Linked DNA regions of Homo sapiens: regions 2, 3, 4, 5 and 6 are each linked to region 1. Evidence: promoter capture Hi-C in 16 types of primary human blood cells and fetal thymus (Javierre and others, 2016). All regions are on one chromosome and are shown on one strand. The core of a region is centred on a gene start or on the middle of the fragment in contact, and the rest is flanking DNA. Distances in the headings are between cores, read along the strand shown.

What was found. The method cuts DNA at HindIII sites, captures the fragments that hold promoters and counts their contacts. A CHiCAGO score of 5 or more calls a contact.
Region 2: a contact is called between a fragment that was not itself captured here and the fragment with the promoter of ZNF699 in region 1, in 1 of 17 cell types (neutrophils). The highest score is 6.3, in neutrophils.
Region 3: a contact is called between a fragment that was not itself captured here and the fragment with the promoter of ZNF699 in region 1, in 3 of 17 cell types (neutrophils, naive CD8 T cells and monocytes). The highest score is 7.6, in neutrophils.
Region 4: a contact is called between the fragment with the promoter of ZNF562 here and the fragment with the promoter of ZNF699 in region 1, in 4 of 17 cell types (naive CD4 T cells, fetal thymus, total CD8 T cells and 1 more). The highest score is 5.5, in naive CD4 T cells.
Region 5: a contact is called between a fragment that was not itself captured here and the fragment with the promoter of ZNF699 in region 1, in 4 of 17 cell types (naive CD8 T cells, total CD4 T cells, total B cells and 1 more). The highest score is 7.7, in naive CD8 T cells.
Region 6: a contact is called between a fragment that was not itself captured here and the fragment with the promoter of ZNF699 in region 1, in 9 of 17 cell types (naive CD8 T cells, total CD4 T cells, non-activated CD4 T cells and 6 more). The highest score is 9.7, in naive CD8 T cells.

Annotation. Positions count from the first base shown.
Region 1 is chr19:9,307,963-9,311,572 of GRCh38, reverse strand. It overlaps ZNF699 (zinc finger protein 699), which reads left to right and starts at 1,735. Exons shown (of 6, transcript NM_198535.3): 1 at 1,735-2,223. RefSeq lists an enhancer at 1,636-1,755 and a silencer at 1,816-2,065. The HindIII fragment of the contact is 15,955 bases long and covers 1-3,610 here.
Region 2 is chr19:9,806,507-9,810,116 of GRCh38, reverse strand. No RefSeq gene overlaps it. Among named protein-coding and RNA genes, the nearest start is that of FBXL12, 11 kb to the left of the region's middle. The HindIII fragment of the contact is 1,440 bases long and covers 1,226-2,665 here.
Region 3 is chr19:9,758,812-9,762,421 of GRCh38, reverse strand. It overlaps ZNF846 (zinc finger protein 846), which reads left to right. Exons shown (of 6, transcript NM_001077624.3): 4 at 254-340; 5 at 2,480-2,562. Among named protein-coding and RNA genes, the nearest start is that of ZNF846, 8.1 kb to the left of the region's middle. The HindIII fragment of the contact is 4,547 bases long and covers 1-3,610 here.
Region 4 is chr19:9,673,100-9,676,709 of GRCh38, reverse strand. ZNF562 (zinc finger protein 562) reads left to right here and starts at 1,610. Exons shown (of 6, transcript NM_001130031.2): 1 at 1,610-1,695. RefSeq lists enhancers at 404-1,403, 1,666-1,725, 1,404-1,903, 1,442-2,641. The HindIII fragment of the contact is 670 bases long and covers 1,285-1,954 here.
Region 5 is chr19:9,597,196-9,600,805 of GRCh38, reverse strand. No RefSeq gene overlaps it. Among named protein-coding and RNA genes, the nearest start is that of ZNF121, 14 kb to the right of the region's middle. The HindIII fragment of the contact is 8,305 bases long and covers 1-3,610 here.
Region 6 is chr19:9,568,149-9,571,758 of GRCh38, reverse strand. ZNF121 (zinc finger protein 121) reads left to right here. Exons shown (of 4, transcript NM_001008727.5): 2 at 2,677-2,757; 3 at 3,584-3,610. Among named protein-coding and RNA genes, the nearest start is that of ZNF121, 15 kb to the left of the region's middle. The HindIII fragment of the contact is 7,355 bases long and covers 1-3,610 here.

The sequences.
Region 1 (3,610 bases), core at 486-2,985:
AATTAGGAAGTATTTTTATATTTTAGAGTTTGGGGAGACATTTAAAAGCAAACTAGGAAACTCAGAAACCATTTTACTAAAAGTATAGATTCATTGGGGATATATAAAATTGAATATATATATTTTTGAGATGGAGTCTTTCTATTGTCGCCCAGGCTGGAGTGCAATGGCGCGATCTCAGCTCACTGCAACCTCTGCCTCCCAGGTTCAAGCGATTCTCCTTGCCTCAGCCTCCTGAGTAGCTGGGATTACAGGCACCCGCCACCATGCCCAGCTAATTTTTTGTATTTTTAGTAGAGATGGGGTTTCACCATGGTAGCCAGGCTGGTCTTGAACACCTGACCTCAGGTAATCCACCGGCCTCGGCCTCCCAAAGTGCTGGGATTACAGGCATGAGCCACTGCGCCTTGCCTAAAATTAAATATTTTATATGGATATCATATTATAAACTAAGAGGAGCAAAATTATGTTATCAACTCAATTGTTGCATAAACATTTGATAGTGTTCATAAAAAATTATTGATAAAATATCTTTATAAACCTGGTTTAAAAAGATTAACTTGATAAGAGGTGCAACCTGTTGTAAACAGCTTACTGAGGAACTTTGGTAATCATTACCGACCAAGACAAGAATGCTTAATTTCTTTCCGACTTATAGTTGAGGAAGCCCTAAACAAACAATAAGAAAAAGAAATGACTCTGGGTGTGGTGGCTTACACCTGTACCCCTAGCACTCTGGGAGGCTGAGGTGAGAGGATAGCTTGAGCTCAGGAGTTTGAGACCAGCTTCAGCAACATAGTGCGATCCCATCTCTACAAAAAAATAAAGAAAATAGCTGGGTGGGGTGGTACGCGACTGTATTCTCAGCTACTTGGGGGGCTGAGATGGGACCATCACTTGAGCTGGGGAAGTCAAGGCTGCAGTGAGCCATGGTCGCGCCACTGCACTCCAGTCTAGGCGATAGAATGAGACATTGCCTCACATAAAGAAATGAGTTATACACATTAAAACAATGAAAATATGCAGAGAAAATATTTATATTTGATGGTTCAAATAATAAACTGACAGCTATCAGAATTCAGCAAGTTTCCAGGAAAAAGGTTCTATTTAAATAATTATCAATGGCTTCCCTCTACAGGAGAAGTTATCAATACAACAATGAAAGGGAAAACTAAAAGGCCCAAAAGGACTGAGTGAGTGTCAAGGAGAGTCTGTTTCCTATTAGAGCTGCAAATATATGTGTCCTGTGTACAGGACTGTAGCAACGTGGAGGATAGGTAGAAACCCGATCGATGAGCATCCTGTATCCGTGGTAGCTGAGAACCTGGATGGGAAGCCCTAGCCTTAGCCCCATCCCTAGGCCTTGTCACTTAAGCCCCGCCCAGCCCTCGTCTCCGCCCCCTAGGAATTTCTACCAAGCCCCGCTCCCAATCTGGTTCCACCTTTAGCCCCGCCCCTTGGAGTATTTAAAAGGCCACGCCCCTAGGTCTAGCCCCAGTTCCGCCCCTCAGGCCGAGTCATGCAAGTCCAGTTCAGGGTTCTGTTTCTTCTCTGTTTACTCCAAATCATGAAGAAACTAGGATTTCTCATCCACTTGCGGCTGGAACCAGCCTTGGCGCTCCTTTGCATCCCGCTCCTACCTGCTCCACCCCCTTCACCTCAAGTCCCGCTTCCCAGGCCCCGCCCCATACGCCATTTGCAGCGCCGAAAGAGGAATCAGAAGTGTGCTTCTGCGCATGCGCGAGTCGACAGCCTTGTCACCCTACGCCTCCGCCCGCGTCTGAGGAACATTTTTGCCTCCGCCCGCTTCCTGTCCTGCCCTGCCCCGCCCCGCCCTGCCTGCCCCGGGTCGGGTCCGCGGGAGACCGAGGGCTGGGTTTGGGAATCGGCGGTCTAAGGGCTGCCTCCCCGCCACTCCTTGTCCGGACCCCGCGCCCGGGGCCTCCCGCCGCCGCGGCGCCTCCTCAGAGAGCCCGGGTCAGCTGCCCCTGTGGCCGCGGCTGGTCCCAAACTCACTGAATCGGGAACTCTGGTCTGGGTACAGAAATCGGGGTGATTCTGATGCAGGCGAGAGTTGGAGAACCAATGTCGTAGTTCATCAGCCTCCGAAAGCATCCTTTGCTCTCTTTCCAGAAAGGAAGAGCATCTCTGCCATTCGTGTCTCAAGGACAAGCGCTTCAGCCTCGTTCTCTGTGAGCTGATCTGTGGATCGCGGCGTGTCGGGTGAGCACGGGGTGACATTTGCCTCGGCTCGGTCCCCTCCTGTCCCCTCTTTATGCATTAGGTAGTGTTTGGGCCAAGCGCGGTGGTTCACGCCTGTAATCCCAGCACTTTGGGCGGCCGAGGCGGGCGGATCGCTTGAGCCCAGGAGTTTGAGGCCAGCCTGGGCAACATAGCAAGATCCCGTCTCTACCAAAAAAAAAAAAAAAAAAAAAAGTAAAATAAAAGGTGCTCTCCTGTGTTCCCAGCTACTCGGGAGGCAGAGGTTGCAGTGAGCTGAGATCGCATCACTGCACTCCAGCCTGGGCAACAGAGCGAGACACTGTCTCAAAAAAACAAAAAGATAGTATTTGGTCTCTGGATATTATATTCTGCCTGTGGACATCAGTTTGATACATTATATTCAAGTGAAAGTGAACTGATGCATTTTGTCATTAATGATGCATTTGAATCATTTGTCTATAGATTGGTTAAATTTCACACAGAAAATTTGGTCATCTGTCAGTTTCAATCTTTTCCCTTTTTATTCCTTGCAGTTTCCATTTCTTTTCATTTCTTTACTGCACTTGCCAGGACCTCCAGTACAATGTCCGACAGAATAGCATGTAATTTACATCCTGTCTTGTTTCTGATTCCAGAGGGAATTATTCTATCATTTCACCATTAAATAGGATGTTTGCTGTAGGTGTTTGTAGGTTTTTTTCCTTTCTTTATTCCTATTTCTTTTTAGAAAATAGGAGTCTCGCTCTGTTGCCCGGGCAGGTCTCGAACTCATGGGCTCTCCGCCTCCCAAAGTGCTGGAATTACAGGCATGAGCCACTGCACCCGGCCTGACCGTGTTTTAAACCGCTGATTTTTTTTTCTTTAATTACTGGGTGTAATCAGGTTTTAGATCACTGCTTGAAAGTTGTACTACTTTCTAGAAATTCATTAATTACCTGTGCATCTTCATATTTATTCCTTAAATTTTTTCTATATTCTCCTTATGATATCTGTAATTATGATTAATTCTTGTTCATTTTTTTTTTGTTGTTGTTGTTTATGCCCTGTTGCTCTTAAAATTGCTGAGTCTGTTGCTGGCTGCAGTGGCGCATATCTGTAGTCCCAGCTGGTGGGAAGCTAAGGCAGATGGATCGCTTGAGCCTAGGAAATGAGATCAACCTGGGAACATAAAGAGTCTGTCTTAAACAATAAATTAAATTAAAAAATTTTTTTAAAAAGCTGAGTTTGTCAGTTTCATTAGTTTTTCTTTTTGCAAAGGATGCTTTTTTAGCTTTTCTGATTTTGTTTACTATGTTTTAAAAAAGATTATTTTCTATTTTCTTTCTAAACTTTTATGCTGGTCTTTATTCAACTTTATATATCAATAGTCTAGCCTATTAATACCGAT
Region 2 (3,610 bases), core at 696-3,195, 500 kb before region 1:
AACAGGTAAGCCAGTCCATGCTTTAGTTTTTTTGTGTGGGGACAGAGTCTCACTCTGTCACCCAGGCTGGAGTGCAGTGGTGCGATCTTGGCTCACTGCAACCTCCGTCTCCCGGGTTCAAGTGATTCTCCTGCCTCAGCCTCCCAAGTAGCTGGGATTACAGGCACCCGCCACCACGCCCAGCTAATTTTTGTATCTTTAGTAGAGATGGGGTTTCACCATGTTGGTCAGGCTGGTCTCAAACTCCTGACCTCGTGATCTGCTCACCTCGGCCTCCCAAAGTGCTGGAATTACAGGTGTGAGCCACTGCGCTCGGCCACCATGTTGTAATTTTGGAGACTCTGAGCCAGTACACCAGGGTCACGTGATGGAGGCATACTTGCATGGTTGAGTGAGCACGGTAGGCCTCTGTGCTGAGATCTGAGAGGTGAAGAGAAAGCAAAGATCAGAAGAGCTAGGGCAGAAGAGGAAAGGCCAGCACTGCTAAGATGAGAATGAACTTGGCATTTTCCAGAAACAGAAAGAAGGTTGTGTGGCAGAGTGAGCAGGGGTAAGAGCTGTCGAAGTTGAGGTCAGGGCCGGGCATGGTGGCTCACATGTGTAAACCCAGCACTTTGGGAGGCTGAGGTGGGTGGATCACTTGAGCCCAGGAGTTTAAGGCCAACCTGGGACATCTGAGGCAAGTGAATCACTTTGAGTTCAGGAGTTTGAGACCAGCTTGGGCAACATGGTGAAACCCTGTCTCTACAGAAAAAATTAGCCAGGTGTGGTGGTGTGCATCTACCCAGCTGGTATCCCAGCTATTCAGGAGGCTGAGGTGGGAGGATTGCTTAAGCCTGGGACTCGGAGGTTGCAGTGAACTGTGATCACCACTGCACTCCAGACTGGGTGACAGAGTGAGACCCTGTCTCAAAAAAAAAAAAAATAAAACAAAAGGAGATAATGGGGACAGGAGTGGGCAGGGCCTTGCAGGTGGCTCAGGCTTTAGGGGTTCAGTAAGTAACACCACCTTTTCCTGCCTTTCGAGTCTGAACCACTTGAAAGATGCAGGTGTCAGATTATAAGTGTGAGTGCCTACCCGTGAGATGAGCGTTGCTGTGTGTGGCTAAGCCCCGGCTCTGTGGGTTCACCACCTGCTCAGCAGGCCCAGGTGCCTCCTCTGGTGCTTAGAGCCAGGTTGGAGAAGAGAGCTGAGCTGGGTACACTTGGTTTCTTATTCCAAGCTTACCCATCAGAGAAGAGCCAGAGATGTTCCTCCCATGCTCTTCCCACTCAGAGTTGCAGTAGAAATTCCTTCTCTTTCTGTCTCTCTTTTTTTTTTTTTTTTGAAACGGAGTCTTGATCTGTTGCCCAGGCTGGAGTGGTGCAGTGGTGCAATCTTAGCTCACTGCAACCTCTGCCTCCCAGGATCAAATGATTCTCCTGCCTCAGCCTCCTAAGTAGCTGGGAATACAGGCGTGTGCCACCATGCCTGGCTAATTTTTGTATTTTTAGTAGAGTTGGAGTTTCACCATATTGGTCAGGCTGGTCTCAAACTCCTGACCTTGTGATCTGCCCACCTTGGCCTCCCAAAGTGCTGGGATTACAGGTGTGAGCCACTGCGCCCAACCTTTTTTTTTTTTTTTTTTTTTTTTTTAAATAGAGATGGGGCCAGGCACGGTGTGTCCCATGCCTGTAATCCCAGCACTTTGGGACACCAAGGCGGGAGGATCATCTGAGGTCAGGAGTTCGAGACCAGCCTGGCCAACATGGTGAAACCCCGTCTCTACTAAAAATACAAAGATTAGCTGGACTTGGTGGCACATGCCTATAATCCCAGCTACTCAGGAGGCTGAGGCAGGAGAATCGCTTGAACCCTGGAGTGGGAGGTTGCAGAGAGCCGAGATTGTACCACTGCACTCCAGTCTGGGCAACAGAGAGAGACTCTGTTTCAAAAATAAATATAGATAGATAGATAGGAGGTTGCAGAGAGCCGAGATTGTGCCACTGTACTCCAGCCTGGGCAACAGAGAGAGACTCTGTTTCAAAAATAAATATAGATAGATAGATAGACAGACAGGTAGACAGACAGAGACAGGAGTCTCCCTATGTTGCCAAGACTGGTCTCGAACTCCTGGGCTCAAGCCATCCTACTTCAGCCTCCCAAGTAGCTGGGACCACAGGAATGTGCCACCACACCTAGCTACTTTTTATTTTTTGTAGAGATGGGGGTCTCACTGTGTTGCCCAGGCTGGTCTCTAACTCCTGAGTGCAAATGATCCTCCTGCCTTGGCCTCCCAAAATACTGGGATTACAGGCATGAGCCACCTCACCTGAAATTCCTTCTCCATCTGGCCACATGAGGACTAGGCTATGAGTGTGCCCCTGATGTGGCCCTAGTCAAGGTCTGATTGTCCAATGCTGTGACCACCCCAGCAGCTCCAGCCCAGGACATCAGGGGGCTGGGTTGAACCAGGTAGAAACAGAGATTGGTGAAGTCTCAGAGCCTGTGGGAACAAGGAGGGAAATGAGGTTTGTTTTGCTTGCAGAGAGTGTCTGGAGAGCTGGGGTCAGTTTGGGAGAACATGAGGGTGACTCAACACCAGCCCTGTGCTGGACTCTGCAGGTGGTTCTGGAAGTGCATTGCCGATGCCCCAACCTGGAACAACTCTAGGGCAAAAAAGCTTCCTTTCTTTTTCCTCTCTGCCTTTCCAGTTGGAAGGGAGGGAGCAGCAGGCATTCGTTTTAGTTTTTTTGTTTGTTTTTTGGAGATGCTAGTCTCACTCTGTCACCTAAGCTGGAGTGCAATGGTGCGATCTCAGCTCACTGCAACCTCTGCCTCCAAGGTTTATGCTGCAGCCTGCCTCAGCCTCCTGAGTACCTGGGATTACAGGCACATGCCACCACACCCAGCCAATTTTTATATTTTTAGGAGATGGGGTTTCACCATGTTGGCCAGGCTGGTCTCAAACTCCTGGCCTTAAGTGATCCGCCTGCTTTAGCGTCCCAAAGTGCTGGGATTACAGGTGTGAGCCGCTGCAACTGGCCAGCAGGCATTAATTTTGAAGCAGGTAAGTGTTTACAGGCAGTGCTAGCAGGTGGGGGAAGAAGGCCCTGATCTGTAGCATTTGCAGATTACTATGGTGTAAACACTGTCTCACCACAGCTGGTTTCAAGCTACCAACAGTTTAACAACTGGCTCACAAAATAGTTGAAGATTCAGCATTTGGCTCTCCTGAGCTGTGGCATACCACTGGTTACAGGTGTCTTCTTCCTGGGCTTACCCTATGGAGAATTCATTCTGCCTTAGTGACCTCTAACATGGGCCTTGCCCCAAGGGGTGATGGGGTGATGGGACATCAGACAGAGCTTCTCCCCTTTTGGAACCTCCCCACCCCTAATCATTGCCTTCTCCCAGATAAGGGGCTGGGGGCTTCAGGACTGCCCTCCAATGAAGGCAAAGCATAATCACAATAGCTGACATTATTATTTTATTTTTATTTATTTATTTTGAGACATGGTCTTACTCCATCACCCAAGCTGGAGTGCAGTGGTGTGACTGTAGCTCACTGCAGCCTCGAACTCCTGGGTTCAAGCAATCTTCCCACCTCATCCTCCCCAGCAGCTGGGA
Region 3 (3,610 bases), core at 609-3,108, 450 kb before region 1:
AAGTGATCTCCCTGCCTTGGCTTCCCAAAGTGCTGAGGTATGAGGCATGAGCCATTATACCTGGGCAACATTTTTGTTATTTTAAAAATAGTTTTAGTGCATGTATTGGAAATGTTATATGATTAGTTTGCTATTTGTAAAGTTACACTTGACCATCTTTAGAATCCCCGAAGGCAAAAGTATTGGTTCCCCATTGAAGGACATGGTGTTATGTCTTGCATGGGCCTCTTCTTTTGTGCATTTTTCCCTCCAGCAGGGTCTGAATTATTCAAACGTAGTCTCATGTCTGGATTGGAACAAATGGAAGAGCTGAGGACAGGAGTGACAGGAGTTCTGCAGGGTGAGTTCATAAGCAGATGTGGTATTATGGCACTGCTGTGCCACCCTAGGAGACATGCAGTACATTGGAAATGTTACTTTGCGAACTTCTCAGGGTATACTCTTCTTCCTGAGAAGGCTGAGGCCATTTGGTTTCCTTAGATACTTTCAACTCCCCTCATCTTTAAATTTCCATTGATCTTCTCAACCTCTTTTCTGTTCTCAGAAAGGTTTGTCTGCCTTATTTGAAAATTCCATCTTATGCATGTAGGTCCTTTGCCAACACCTTCTTATATTGCTTTCTTGATTCTCCCATCTTTTTGCTTACTACCAGCCTCAGTTTTCTGCATATTATTAGTTGGATAATAAGTAATACAGGTTTTTTTTTTTTTTGAGATGGAGTCTTGCACTGTCGCCCTGGCTGGTGTGCAGTGACATGATCTTGGCTTGCTGCAACCTCCACCTCCTGGGTTCAAGCAATTCTCCTGCCTCAGCCTCCCAAGTAGCTAAGATTACAGGCACCTGACACCACGCCCAACTAATTTTTTGTATTTTTGTAGAGATGGGATTTCACTATGTTGGCCAGGCTGTTCTCGAACTCCTGACCTTGTGATTCACCTGCCTCAGCCTCCCAAAGTGCTGGCATTACAGGTGTAGTGATAGTTTTGACACCATATCTTTACCATTGCAAAACTTCTGACATAGCCAAACTCTTTATAGTCCATCTTTCCATTTGCTTCACTCTTTTTTTTTTTAATCATGTTTTATGCATGTTTGGAAAGATATACAAATGTGCCATATACTTTTTTTAGGTAAAATATACAAAAATTTACCATTTTAGTGTTGTGTAGCTATCAGCTCTTTTTAGTTTCAAGGCATTTCTTTGTTTGTTTGTTTGTTTGAGACAGAGTCTCTCTCTGTTGCCCAGGATAGAGTCCAGTGGAGCCATCTTGGCTCACTGCAACCTCCATCAGCTTCCTGGCTTCAAGTGATTCTCCTGCCTCAGCCTTCTGAGTAGTTGGGACTACAGGCGTGCGCCACCATGCCTGGTGAATTTTTGTGTTTTTTGATAGAGATGGAGTTTCACCATGTTGGCCAGGCTGGTCTCAAACTCCTGACCTCAAGTGACCCACCTGCCTCCGTCTCCCAAAGTGTTGGGATTACAGGCATGAGCCAGTGTGCTTGGTCTAGTTTCAAAGCATTACCATCACACCAAAAGGAAACCATATACCCATCAAGTAGTCAGTCCCCACTCACCCTACAGAGACTAATTTGCTTTCTCTCTCTACGGATTTACCCTTTCTGTATATCTTATATAAATGGAATCATACAATGTAACCTTTTCTCTCTAGCTTCTTTCACTTAGCTATATATATATGTATATATATATTTTTTTCTTTTTTGACACAGAGTCTCACTCTGTCACCCAGGCTGGAGTGCAATGGCATGATCTTGACTCACTGCAACCTCTGCCTCCTGGTTTCAAGTGATTCTCATGACTCAGCCACTTGAGTAGCTGGGATTACAGGTGTACACCACCATGTCTGGCCAATTTTTGTATTTTTAGTAGAGACAGCACTTCACCATGTTGGCCGGGCTGGTCTCGAACTCCTGAACTCAAGTGATCCACCTACCTTGACCTCCCAAAGTGCTGGGATTATAGGCATGAACCACCACACCCAGCCCAGCACAGTTGATTCTGATAGGTTTTCTGAACTTATTAGTCATATTGTGGTAGGAAAGAGCCCTGTAGTTCTTCACTCTGCCACATTTGATTATGCTATGTCTGTTCCTTAGGCATTTTTTTTTTTTGAGACGAAGTCTTGCTCTGTAGCCCAGGCTGGAGTGCAGTGGTGGATCTCACCTCACCGCAACCTCCACCCTCTGGGTTCAAGTGATTCTCCTGCCTCAGCCTCCTGAGTAGCTGGGATTACAGGCATGCACCACTGCACCTGGCTAATTTTTTGTATTTTTAGTAGAGACAGTGTTTCACCATGTTGGCCAGGCTGGTCTTGAACTCCTAACCTCAGGTAAGCCACCTATCTAGGCCTCCAAAAGTGCTAGGATTACAGGTGTGAGCCACCACGCCCAGCCCCATAGGCTTTTAAACGACTTTATTCCACAATTTTTCTCCCAAGCTGCATTTTTCACTTTATTTCAGAATTGGATTTGCAACTCAAAACCAAAGGCTCCCCACTGCTGCAAGATATTTCTGCAGAAAGATCACCAAATGGAGTACAATTGGTAAGATTTCCAAGGGATGAAATCTTCCACACTAGGACAAGAAGCACAATATTCATGAAAATTATATGAGGAAAATGGCATTTACCCAGAGAAAACAAAGTCTGAAGAGATTCTCTGAATATCATGAATATGGGAAGCACTCTAAACTTACTACAAACATATTTCTTCTCAGAGATCTCACAAATAAACATCCACAAACATACAACTCAGCTATTCAGTTTTTTGTGCATAATTTCTTTTACTTTATTATTATTTTTGAGACAAGGTCTTACTCTGTTGCTCAGGCTGGTGTGCAATGGTGCAGTCTTGGCTCACTGCAACCTCTGTTTCCTGGGCTCAAATGATCCTCCAGCCTCAGCCTCCTGAATAGCTGAGACTACAGGCATGAGCCACCATGCCTGGCTGATTATTTTTTTTTTTGTAGAGATGGGGTTTCACCATTTTGTCCAGGCTGGTCTCAAACTCCTGAGCTCAAAGCAATCCACCTGCCTTGGCCTCCCAAAGTGCTGGGATTACAGTCATGAGCCACTGTGCCCAGCCCATAATTTAGTCTAAATAATTCTCAGATGTATTGTGGCTAATGCCTGTAATCCCAGCACTTTGGGAGGCCAAAGCGGGCAGATCACTTGAGGCCAGGAGTTGGAGACTAGCCTGGTCAACATGGCAAAAATCTGTGTTTACTAAAAATACAAAAATTAGCTGGGCATAGTGGCACATGCCTGTAATCCTAGCTACTTGGGAGGCTGAGGCCTGAGAATCCCTTGAACTGGGAGGCAGAGATTGCTGTGAGTCAAGATCGTGCCACTGCACTTCAGCCTGGGTGACAGAGTGAGAATCTTTCTTAAATAAATAAATAAATAAATATCAGACAGATTGTCTAAGAAGCTCTGTGAATGCAGAGAATATAGGCAGGCTGGTGGCCTCATTGTCCTATTACTCAACTTAACTCAAAAATGGGGCTGGAACTCTGTACATATAATGGATATGTTAAAATGTTTAAATATATTTCCAATGCATATATGTTGTGATTGGGGAGAAATTCTGTTAC
Region 4 (3,610 bases), core at 361-2,860, 370 kb before region 1:
CCCTCTGTACTGAAAATAGAAAAAATAGCTGGGCATAGTGGCAGCCACCTGTAATCCCAGCTACTCAGGAGGCTGAAGCAGGAGAATCACTTGCACCCAGGAGACGGAGGTTGCAGTGAGCTGAGATTGCACCACTGCACTCCAGCCCGGGCAACAGAGTGAGACTCCAGTCTCAAAAAAAAAAAAAAAAAAAAAAAAAAGTAAAAAGAAAACGCAATGGAAACAGCAGGTTCTATAAAATAAAGAATGAAAAAATAGGCTGGGCGCGGTGGCTCACGCCTGTAATCCCAGCACTTTGGGAGGCCGAGGCGGGTGGATCATGAGGTCAGGAGATGGGGATCATCTTGGCTAACACCGTGAAACCCCGTCTCTACTAAGAATACAAAAAAATTAGCTGGTTGTGGTCGCGGGCGCCTGTAGTCCCAGCTACTTAGGAGGCTAGGCAGGAGAATGGTGTGAACCCAGGAGGCGGAGCTTGCAGTGAGCCGAGATTGCACCACTGCACTCCAGCCTGGGGGACAGAGAGAGACTCCGTCTCAAAAAAAAAAAAAAAAGAAAAAGAAAAAGAAAAAATAAAGGCCTACAGAAAGAATGACTGAATGGAAGAGACAGACCATGCCATCTATCACTGGCAGGTTTAATATGGAAGAATCATGGAAAGGCTCCAGGAACATGAGGAGCGGCATACAAAAAAGCTTGACACACACACACACACACACACACACACACACACACACACATATATATATATTTTTTCTTTTTGAGATGAAGTCACGCTCTTGTCCCCCAGATTGGAGTGCAGTGGCGCAACCTCGGCTCACCGCAACCTCCGCCTCCCGGGTTCAAGCGATTCTCCTGCCTCAGCCTCCTGAGTAGCTGGGATTACAAGCGCCTGCCACCACACCCAGCTATTTTTTTGTATTTTTAGTAGAGACGGGGTTTCAGCATGTTGGCCAGGCTGGTGTCAAACTCCCGACCTCAGGTGATCCGCCCGCCTTGGCTTCCCAAAGTGCAGGGATTACAGGCGTGAACCACTGGCGCTTGGCCTTATATATATATTTTAATAGAGACAGGGTCGAGCCGGGCACAGGCCTGGGCAACAAGAGTGAAACTCTGTCTCAAAAAAAAAAAAAAAAAAAAAAAGAAAAGAAAAAAAAAGACACACGGTCTTGCTATTTCACTCAGGCTGGTCTGGAACTCTTGGACTCAAGCTATCCACCTGCCTTAGCCTCCCAAAGTGCTGGAATTACAGGCGTGAGCCACTGAGCCCGCCCAGGATAAGCTTTGGAGGAGCATCCTCTGGGGTGCGTCCCATCCCCCATCCCCGCCTTTCCAACCCGTCTGGGCACCTGAAACGCGGGCTAGGCCGGGTCCCACCTCTAAACCGCCCCCAAATATGGGCCCCACCCCTCGCCCACGGTTCCGTCCAGAGGTCCGGTTCTAAACTCATCTTTTTCTCTGAACCCGTTTCTGCATCCCGCTCCCTGAGCCAACCCCAGGCACTGTCCGGCACCCACCCAGGAGGAAACTAGAATTTCTTTGTCCTACGTGCCTGAAACTCAAGCCCTGGAGCCCCACCCGGCCGGAGGCTCGGAGCGGAAGTGACGTCAGTGTGCCACCGCCATCTTTACCGGCTGTGGCTCAGCATGGTCAGTGCCGTTTAACCTTTATTGTGGTGGAGTCCACCCCGCTGTGGTGAGTTCTACCTGCTTGGGGGTCCGGGACATACCAGCGGGGCGGCAAAGGAAGGATTGGGCGTGGTCGCCCAGGAGCCTCTCAGATCCGCCTAGTTTCACTCGCTTTTCTAGGGGCTGTCAGTCCTCCTGGTGCGGCCTCTGGCCAGTTCCGAGAGGCCGCACAGTCCGTCTGGCTGCGTCGGGAAGTGTGTTTGTTCCGCCTCCGCCGGGTGTTTTCTTGAGTACTTTCATCCGCTGTGCTCCTCTCTTGAAAAGCTTGGAAAGCAACCTTTGGGAGTTTTTTTCTTTCCGAAAGGAAAAGGATTTCTGCCCTTCTGGTGAGGTTGGCTCTGGCCCCGCATTCTCCCGCGTCTGGAACCTATCTCTTCCGGCATGTTCCTGGTGAGCAACGGCGGAAAAATGGTTTCAAGAGGGCTGTGACTTCCATTTATTTGCTAAAAAATGTCTCATCTGAGAATCTGGCGTTGTCTTGATGTCCTTTACTTTTTTTTTTTTTTTGATTTGGAGTCTTACTCTGTCGCCCACGCTGGAGTGCAGTGGCACGATGTTGGCTCACTGCAACTTTCACCTCCCGGGTTCAAGTGATTGTTAGATATGAGTTTTAAATTTCTTTTTAAAAAATCAATATGTCAGTATGTTTAATTCTTTGCCTTCTACTTTTAAACTTCTCCGTAAAGCAACCTTTTTCGATCACCTGCTCCACCCTGACTCATTCTGATTACCTGCTCCACCCAGACTTATTTCGATTACTTACTCCACCCTGACTCATTTTCCACCCTGACTCATTCCAATTTCCTGCTCTGTTATAACCATTTTCCCCAACAAACCACTCACCCTGTCACTCTCTTTAAATTAGCCAATTGGAATTAGTTTAGCCTGTGGGGTCTAACCCTAGCCATCGGGGAAGGACAAAGCGGCAGGGGCCACTTTCCTCAAGAATAAGAACCCCTTCCCCTCCCTTGTCCTGGTGTGTGCTCACCATTGCTCCATCTGTGAGGGCACACCCTTCTGTAGAAGTAAATTGCCTTGCTGAGAAAAGAAAATGTTATATTTGAGTGCTTTTTTTTTGTGGCATGAAAACTTTATAACATGATTCACCTGCCTCAGCCTCCCGAGTAGCTGGGATTCCAGGCGTGCACCACCACACCTGGCTAATTTTTTATATTTTTGGTAGAGATGGGGTTTCACCATGTTGGCCAGGCTGGTCTCGAACTCCTGACCTCAAGTGATCCACCCGCCACTTATTTTTGACACATTACATTCAGATGGAAAAAACATAGTTGTTTAGGGTGTGCCCGTTTTTGTATGTAAATATGAACGCGTGTAGACTAAGCCTTTAGTTTTTAATTTTTATTTTCTTGCAGGTTATTTTTTTTCTAATTGTTACCAGCTGCAAGCCTTTCTACTTAAAGCCAGGCCAGATGCACTGGCTCACACCTGTAATCACAGCACTTTGGGAGGCAGAGGCAGGCGGATCACCTGAGGTCAGGAGATCCAGACTAGCCTAGCCAACATGGTAAAACCCTGTCTCTACTAAAAATACAAAAATTAGCCGGGCTTGGTGGTGGGCCCCTGTAATCCCAGCTGTTGGAGATAAAAAAATAAAACGCTGGGTGCTGCAAAGTGAAACCAGCACTCAGGCAAAAGTTTTCTCAGCAACGCAATTTATTTCTATAGAAGGGTGAGTCTCGTGGATGGAGTGATGGCGAGAGTACACCAGATAAGGGAGGGGAAGGGGTTTTTATTTCTAACGCTGGGTCCCTACTTCTGTGTCTCTCCCCCGTGGGTTAGGGTCAGACCGCAGAATCTAAACTGACCCTATTGGCTATCTGTGAATATTTTCCCCAAATAAGGAAGGGTAGGGGGATGTGTGAGTCATGATGGTGGGATGTGCAGTTTCAAAGAGTGGAATA
Region 5 (3,610 bases), core at 792-3,291, 290 kb before region 1:
CACGATCTCGGCTCACTGCAACCTCCTTCTCCGGGGTTCAAGCGATTCTCCTGCCTCGGCCTTCTGAGTAGCTGGGATTACAAGCACATGCCACAACGTCCGGCTAATTTTTGTATATTTAGTACAGATGAGATTTCACCATGTTGGTCAGGCTTGTCTCGATCTCCTGACCTTGTTGATCCACCCGCCTTAGCCTCCCAAAGTGCTGGGATTACAGGCGTGAGCCACCGCGCCCAGCAGCCTATTTTTTTTTTAATTTAATTTAATTTTTTTTTTTTTTTTTGAGACAGAGTGTCGCTCTGTTGCCCAGGCTGGAGTGCAGTGGCGCAATATCAGCTTACTGCAACCTCCGCCTCTCCGGTTTAAGCAATTCTGCCTCAGCCTCCCAAGTAGGTGGGACTATAGGCACATCCGCCACGCCTGGCTAATTTTTTTTTTTTTTGTATTTTAGTAGAGACGGGGTTTCACCATGTTGCTGAGGCTGGTCTTGAACTCCTGAGTTCAGGCAATCCGCCTGCCTCAGCCTCCCAAAGTGCTAGGATTACAGGCGTGAGCCACTGCACTCAGCATTATTTCCATTCTATTCTATTCTATTCTGTTCTATTCTATTCTATTCTTTTTTTTTTTTTTTTTTTTTTTTGAGATGGAGTCTCCCTCTATCGCCCAGGCTGGAGTGCAGTGGCGCAATTTCGGCTCACTGCAACCTCTGTCTCCCAGGTTCAAGCAATTCTCCAGCCTCAGCCTCCCAAGTAGCTGGGGTTATTTTTGTATTTTTAGTAGAGATGGGGTTTCACCATACTGGTCAGGCTGGTCTCGAACTCCTGACCTCAGGTGATCCACCCGCTTTGGCCTTCCAAAGTGCTGGGACTACAGGCGTGAGCCACCATGCCCGGCCCATTCCATTCCATTCCATTCCATTCCATTCCATTCCATTCATTCCATTCCATTCCATTGCATTCTTGAGATGGAGTCTTGCTGTGTTGCCCAGGCTGGAGTGCAATGACTTGATCTTGGCTGACTGCAACCTCTGCCTCCTGGATTCAAGCGATTCTCCTGCCTCAGCCTCCTGAGTAGCTGGGACTACAGGCATGAACCACGACACCCGGCTAATATTGTATTTTTATTAGAGATGGGGTTTCATCATGTTGGTCAGGCTGGTCTCAAACTCCTGACCTCAGGCGATCTGCCCGCCTCAGCCTCCCAAAGTGCTGGGATTTCAGGAGTGAGCCACCACGACTGGCCTAAGGGATACATTTTTTAAAGTTAATTAATTATTTATTGATTGATGAATGACAGAGTCTGCCTTTGTCATCCAGGCTGGATGGAGTGCAGTAGCGTGATCTCAGCTCACTGCAACCTGCCACTCCAGAGCTCAAGCGATTCTCCTGCTTCAGCCTCCCAAGTAGCTTGGATTACATGCCTCCACTACCATGCTGGGCTAATTTTTGTATTTTTAGTAGAGACGGGGTGTCGCCATGTTGGCTATGCTGGTCTGGAACTCCTTAGCTAAGTGATCTGCCTGCTTCAGCCTCCCAAAGTGCTGGGATTACAGTGTGAGTTGTCACGCAAAACCTGGTTGACAGGGGGTCCCTCACCTGGGAAACTTGTTTATACTGATAGATGACCTAGGCCGCTCTTTTTTTTTTTTTTTTTTTTTTTTTTAAGATGGAGTCTCCCTGTGTCTCCCAAGCTGGAGCGCAGTGGCCCGATCTTGGCTTACTTCAACCTCCGCCTCCTGGGTTCAAGCAGTTCTCCTGCCTCAGCCTCCCCGAGTAGCTGGGACTACAGGCATATGCCACCACACCCAGCTAATATTTTTGGTATTTTTAGTAGAGACGAGGTTTCACCATGTTGGCCAGGCTGGTCTCAAACTCTTGACCTCAGGTGATCCGCTCACCTTGGCCTCCCAAAGTGCTGGGATTACAGGCGTGAGTCACCGTGCCCAGCGACATAGCTGCTCTTGTCTGACCTGTGTTCAGTTTATGCCTGCCTGATCATCACTCTGACACTGGAAACCTGACCTTGTGTCCCCACCAGCTCCCTGGGGAAATCTCAACCAGGGGCGGCCCCTGGTTCTTCAGATGGTATGTGCAAATTCAAAACACCACCCCAATAGGACATAATTTCAAAGATTTATTGCTTACACGTCCTGGGAAGGGAGGGCAAAATGAGTTTTGAGGACAGTCTTCCATCCATGGGTCACGCAAGGCAGGGATGAGAGGCAGAGAAGGAGGGAGGTTGTGGCAGCTAGCTGTATACATAAGGGAATAGGGTGTGAGTCACTTTAAATTTAGGAGCAAATACATGGATAGTCAGTTTAAAGGAAGTAGGAGGAAAACACTATCTTGGGCAGGAAAGATGTCTCTAGATTCTTTCTAGATTTTTTTTTTTTTGAGACACAGTTTTGCTCTGTCACCCAGGCTAGAGTGCAGTGGTGTGATCTCGGCTCACTGCGAGCTCTGCCTCCCGGGTTCACTCCATTCTGCCTTGGCCTCCTGGGTAGCTGGGAGTACAGGTGCCCACAACCACGCCCGGCTAATTTTTTTGTGTGTGTTTTTAGTAGAGACGGCGATTCACTGTGTTAGCCAGGATGGTCTCAATCTCCTGACCTCGTGATCCACCCGCCTCGGCCTCCCAAAGTGCTGGGATTACAGGCGTGAGCCACCGCGCCTGGCCAATTCTTTCTGCATTCTTATCTCTAGCCACAGGCTTGAGCTGATTGGGTGTGGTGTTTATTTATTTACTTATTTTTTTGAGATGGAGTCTCTGCACCCAGGCTGGAGTGCAGTGTAGCGATCTTGGCTCACTGCAACCTCTGCCTCTTGGGTTCAAGCAATTCTCCTGTCTCAGCCTCCTGAGTATCTGGGACTACAGGCACGCACCAGCATGCCCAGCTAATTTTTGTATTTTTTAGTAGAGATGGGGTTTCACCATATTGGCCAGGCTGGTGTCGAACTCCTGACCTCGTAATCCACCCACCTCAGCCTCCCAAAGTGCTGGGATTAAAGGCCTGAGCCACTGTGCCTGGCCTCTTTGTTAATTTTTTAAAATATTAAATATGTAAAGGAATAAAGGGCCAAGCACAGTGGCTCATGTCTGTAATCCCAACAATGTAGGAGGCCAAGGCTGAGCATGGTGGCTCATGCCTGTAATCTGAGCACTTTGGGTGGCCTTGGCAGGTGGATCACAAGGTCAGGAGATCAAGAGCATCCTGGCCAACATGGTGAAACCCCGTCTCTACTAAAAATACGAAAATTCACTGGGCGTGGTGGCTGGCACCTGTAGTCCCAGCTACTTGGGGGGCTGAGGCATGAGAATCACTTGAACCCAGGAGGCAGAGGTTGCAGTGAGCTGAGATCAGTCCACTGCACTCCAGCCTGGCAACAGAGTGAGAGTCTGTCTCAAAAAAAAAAAAAAGAAATGTGGGAGGCCAAGGATAGAGAATCACTTTAGAGTTGTTGAGTGTGAATTCGAAGTTTCCCTTCAAAGAATTAATATGTCAGTATGCTCAATTCTTTGCCTTCTACTTTTAAACTTCCTCGTAAAGCAACCTTTTCCACCCTGACACATTCTACTCCTTGACTCATTACCTACTCCACCCTGACTCATT
Region 6 (3,610 bases), core at 615-3,114, 260 kb before region 1:
AAAAATGTGTTTTCTACTTCCTATTCATTGGATATGATCAGTATAATGGTGTCAACATAGTGTACTAGTGTGGTGTTTCATGGAATGTCATTTTCTCTGGGGATTAAGTTACGACAGAGACCTCGAGAACTGACACATTCTAGGGGCAATGTTATGAAGATACATTGTTGGTCCTGCCAGGTGAAAGGTAACCAAGTCTTGTTTTTTTCAAATTGGTATGGAGAAAAGACATTAGCTATGTCAATGCCTGCATACCAAGTGACAGAAATTATGTTGATTTATCTAGTAAAGGCATTACATTTTGAAAAATGGCGGTAATTGGAGTGATCACCTAAGTTCATGATTTATGAATGATTTCAGTGTGGTAATTGAGTGACAGGTTATGATTCTCCACTGGGATAAATCCAGTTTTTGGCTACTATAGTTTAGACTTTTTACATAGATGGAGCAGTATTCAAGTACAGAGATTGGTACACTATGGCCCATGGGCCATATCTGTCTCTCCATGTGTTTTTTGTATATAAAGTTTAATCAGAACACAACCGTGTTCATTTGTTTACATTTTCTATGGTATTTTCCATGCTACAACAGCAGAGTTGAGTAGCTGCAACAGAGACCATGTGGCCCATAATGCCTAACATATATTTTGTGGCTCTTTAGAGTAGGCTTTGTTAACTGCTTATCTATTTCATTTCTAGGGACAGCACGATCAGTTAGCCACCACCACAGATCTCTGTAGGTCAGGGCATTCTGATTACTGGTACATTTCCACTGTCCTTGATAGTTGATTTTCTCACCTTGTGTTTGGTGATTAAATACTACCTTCTTGATTTCTGCTATTCTGGGTCCCCTTCATCTCGATTGAAAGCAGGGAACTCGGCTGGGTGCGGTGGCTCACGCCTGTAATCCCAGCACTTTGGGAGGCTGAGGCGGGCAGATCACCTGAGGCCAGGAGTTCTAGACCATCCTGGCCAATATGGTTAAACCCCGTCTGTACTAAAAATACCCCCCCCCCTCGCAAAAAATTAGCCAAGTGTGGTGGCAGGTGCCTGTAATCCCAGCTACTTGGGAGGCTCAGGCAGGAGAATCGCTTTAACCCAGGAGGCGGAGGTTGCAGTGAGCCTAGACTGCGTCATTGCACTCCATCCTGGGCAACAAGAGCAAAACTCCGTCTCAAAAACAAACAAACAAACAAAAAAACCCAGGGAACTCATCTCAGTGATGGTATTCTTTGCAGTCATACCTGTCCTATGAAGGAGAATACCAACAGAGCTTTTCAAGGATTACGACACTCCCGCCACTACTCTCTTAATAACCTTTGTGAAGAGAGTGTCTTCTGCTCTGTCAACAAAGGGCGGGGGAGTGGGCTATACAGATGACACATAGTAAATCCAGTGCAACACTCCTGTCTCTCTAGGATTCCCTCCTTCACATTATGCCAGGGAAGCTCTGGCATATGAGCCTCATTAATTATAACAATTTCAGCCCTGAGAACATAAGAAATAACTTTATTTCAGGGGTGTCCTAAAGAAGCTCTCTGATTCTTTTGTTTTTGGATGGAATCTTGCTCTGTTGCCCAGCCTGGAGTGCAGTGGCATGATCTCGGCTCACTGCAGCCTCTGCTTCCTGAGTAAAAGCGATTCTCCTGCCTCAGCCTCCTGAGTGGTTGGGACTACAGGCACGTGCCACCACGCCCTGCTAATTTTTGTATTGCTTGAACTAGGGTGGGCGGCGGCAGAGGTTGTAGTGAGCGAAGATTGTGCCACTACACTCCAGCCTGGGGGACAGAGCAAAAATCTCTCAAAAAGAAAAAAAAGAGAGAGAGAGAGAGATGTAATACTACCCATGATATAAGAAAAGCTACAAAAGACACAATATTCGAGCTTTTGACGATATCGTAAAAAAAAAAAAAAAAAAAAAGATCTCGGCCAGGCGTGGTGGCTCACACCTGCAATCCCAGCACTTTGGGAGGCTGAGGTGGGCGGATCACCTGAGGTCGGGAGTTCAAGACAAGCCTGGCCAATGTGGTGAAACCCTGTCTCTATAAAAATACAAAAAAATTAGCCAGACCTGATGGTGGGTGCCTGTAACCCCAGCTGCTCACGAGGCTGAGGCAGGAGAATCACTTGAACCTGGGAGGTGGAGGTTGCAGTGAGTTGAGACAGTGCCATTGCACTCCAGCCTGGGTGACAGAGTGAGACTCTGTCTCAAAAAAAAAAACAAAACCAGAAAACAAAATAATGATCTCTCTTTGCACTTGGATTATTTCCTATTTGAATACACGTTTTAATGGTTTTTATTTTATTTTTTTTAAGACAGGGTCTCACTTTGTCACCTAGGTTGGAGTACAGTGGTGCAATCATGACTCACTGCAGCCTCAACCTCCCCAGGCTCAGGTGATTCTCCCACCTCAGCCTCCCAAAGTTCTGGGATTACAGGCATGAGCCACTGCGCCCAGTCTTTAATGGTTTTTAAATGTGTATTTAAGTCTGAATAGTGGGTATTTGGTCAGAGATAACCAACTCCTCAGGGCACAAAAGGATGAGATATATGAAATTTGAGCTCTTTTAAAATAGTTTCACTACTCTCTTTAGGAATATAGTTGTTTTTTTCTTGGTTACGTTTGTCATTTCCTTCATAAGCCTCTTCCATTGATGTATCTTTCCCTCTGTACAGGACCTATTCAAACTCAGTCTGTCTCTTGACTGGAGGAGGAGAAGGAAAAGTTGAGCACATTGCCAACCGGAGTTCCCCAAGGTGAGTATGAAGAACACTCCTGGTCAATGAGAAGTTCAGTATGTTTGGAAGCATAATGAAGATATATTTAAAAGATGTACTTTGTCACAGAACATGGGGCCATTGGACTTGGAAGTTTTAGGGTATCTTCAACTTTCCATATTCCTCTCTTTTTCATCTAACCCAGACTTTCATGTGATTTTGCAAATGAGTGCTCTTTTATCTTTTTGTTTATGACTTTAATGTGTGCTCTTTATCCAGATCATTTCTATTTTCCTTCCCTAATACTATTTCTGTTCATTATCTCATTTAATTTCTATAGAATAAATTGTTTAAAAAATTACTAAATTGCTGGGCATGGTGGCTTATGCCTGTAATCCCAGCACTTTGGGAGGCTGAGGCGGGTGGATCTTTTGAGGTCAGGAGTTGAGACCAGCCTGGCCAACATGGAGAAACCCCGTCTCTACTAAAAATACAAAAATTAGCCGGGCCTGGTGGTGGGCACCTGTAATCCAAGCTACTCGGAGGCTGAGGCAGGAGAATCGCTTGAACCCAGGAGGTGGAGGTTGCAGTGAGCCGAGATCATGCCACTGCACTCCAGCACTCCAGTCTGGGTGACAGAGCGAGACTCTGTCTCAAAAAAAAAAAAAATTACTAAGTTTAGACCCCAAGTCCTTACGATTGCCAAATGTTCGTCATGGATAAACTGTTCAAATCTATGTCTGTTTAATTTTTTTGAGTGTGCTGAATATGACAAATAAAAATGAGCTTTATAATTCTGACTTATTTAACCTACTGTTTTGTTCTCAGACCCTATTTTTTTTTCTTTTTTTCTGTTTTACTTCAGAATGGCAAGTTAAAACCAAAGTGTCAG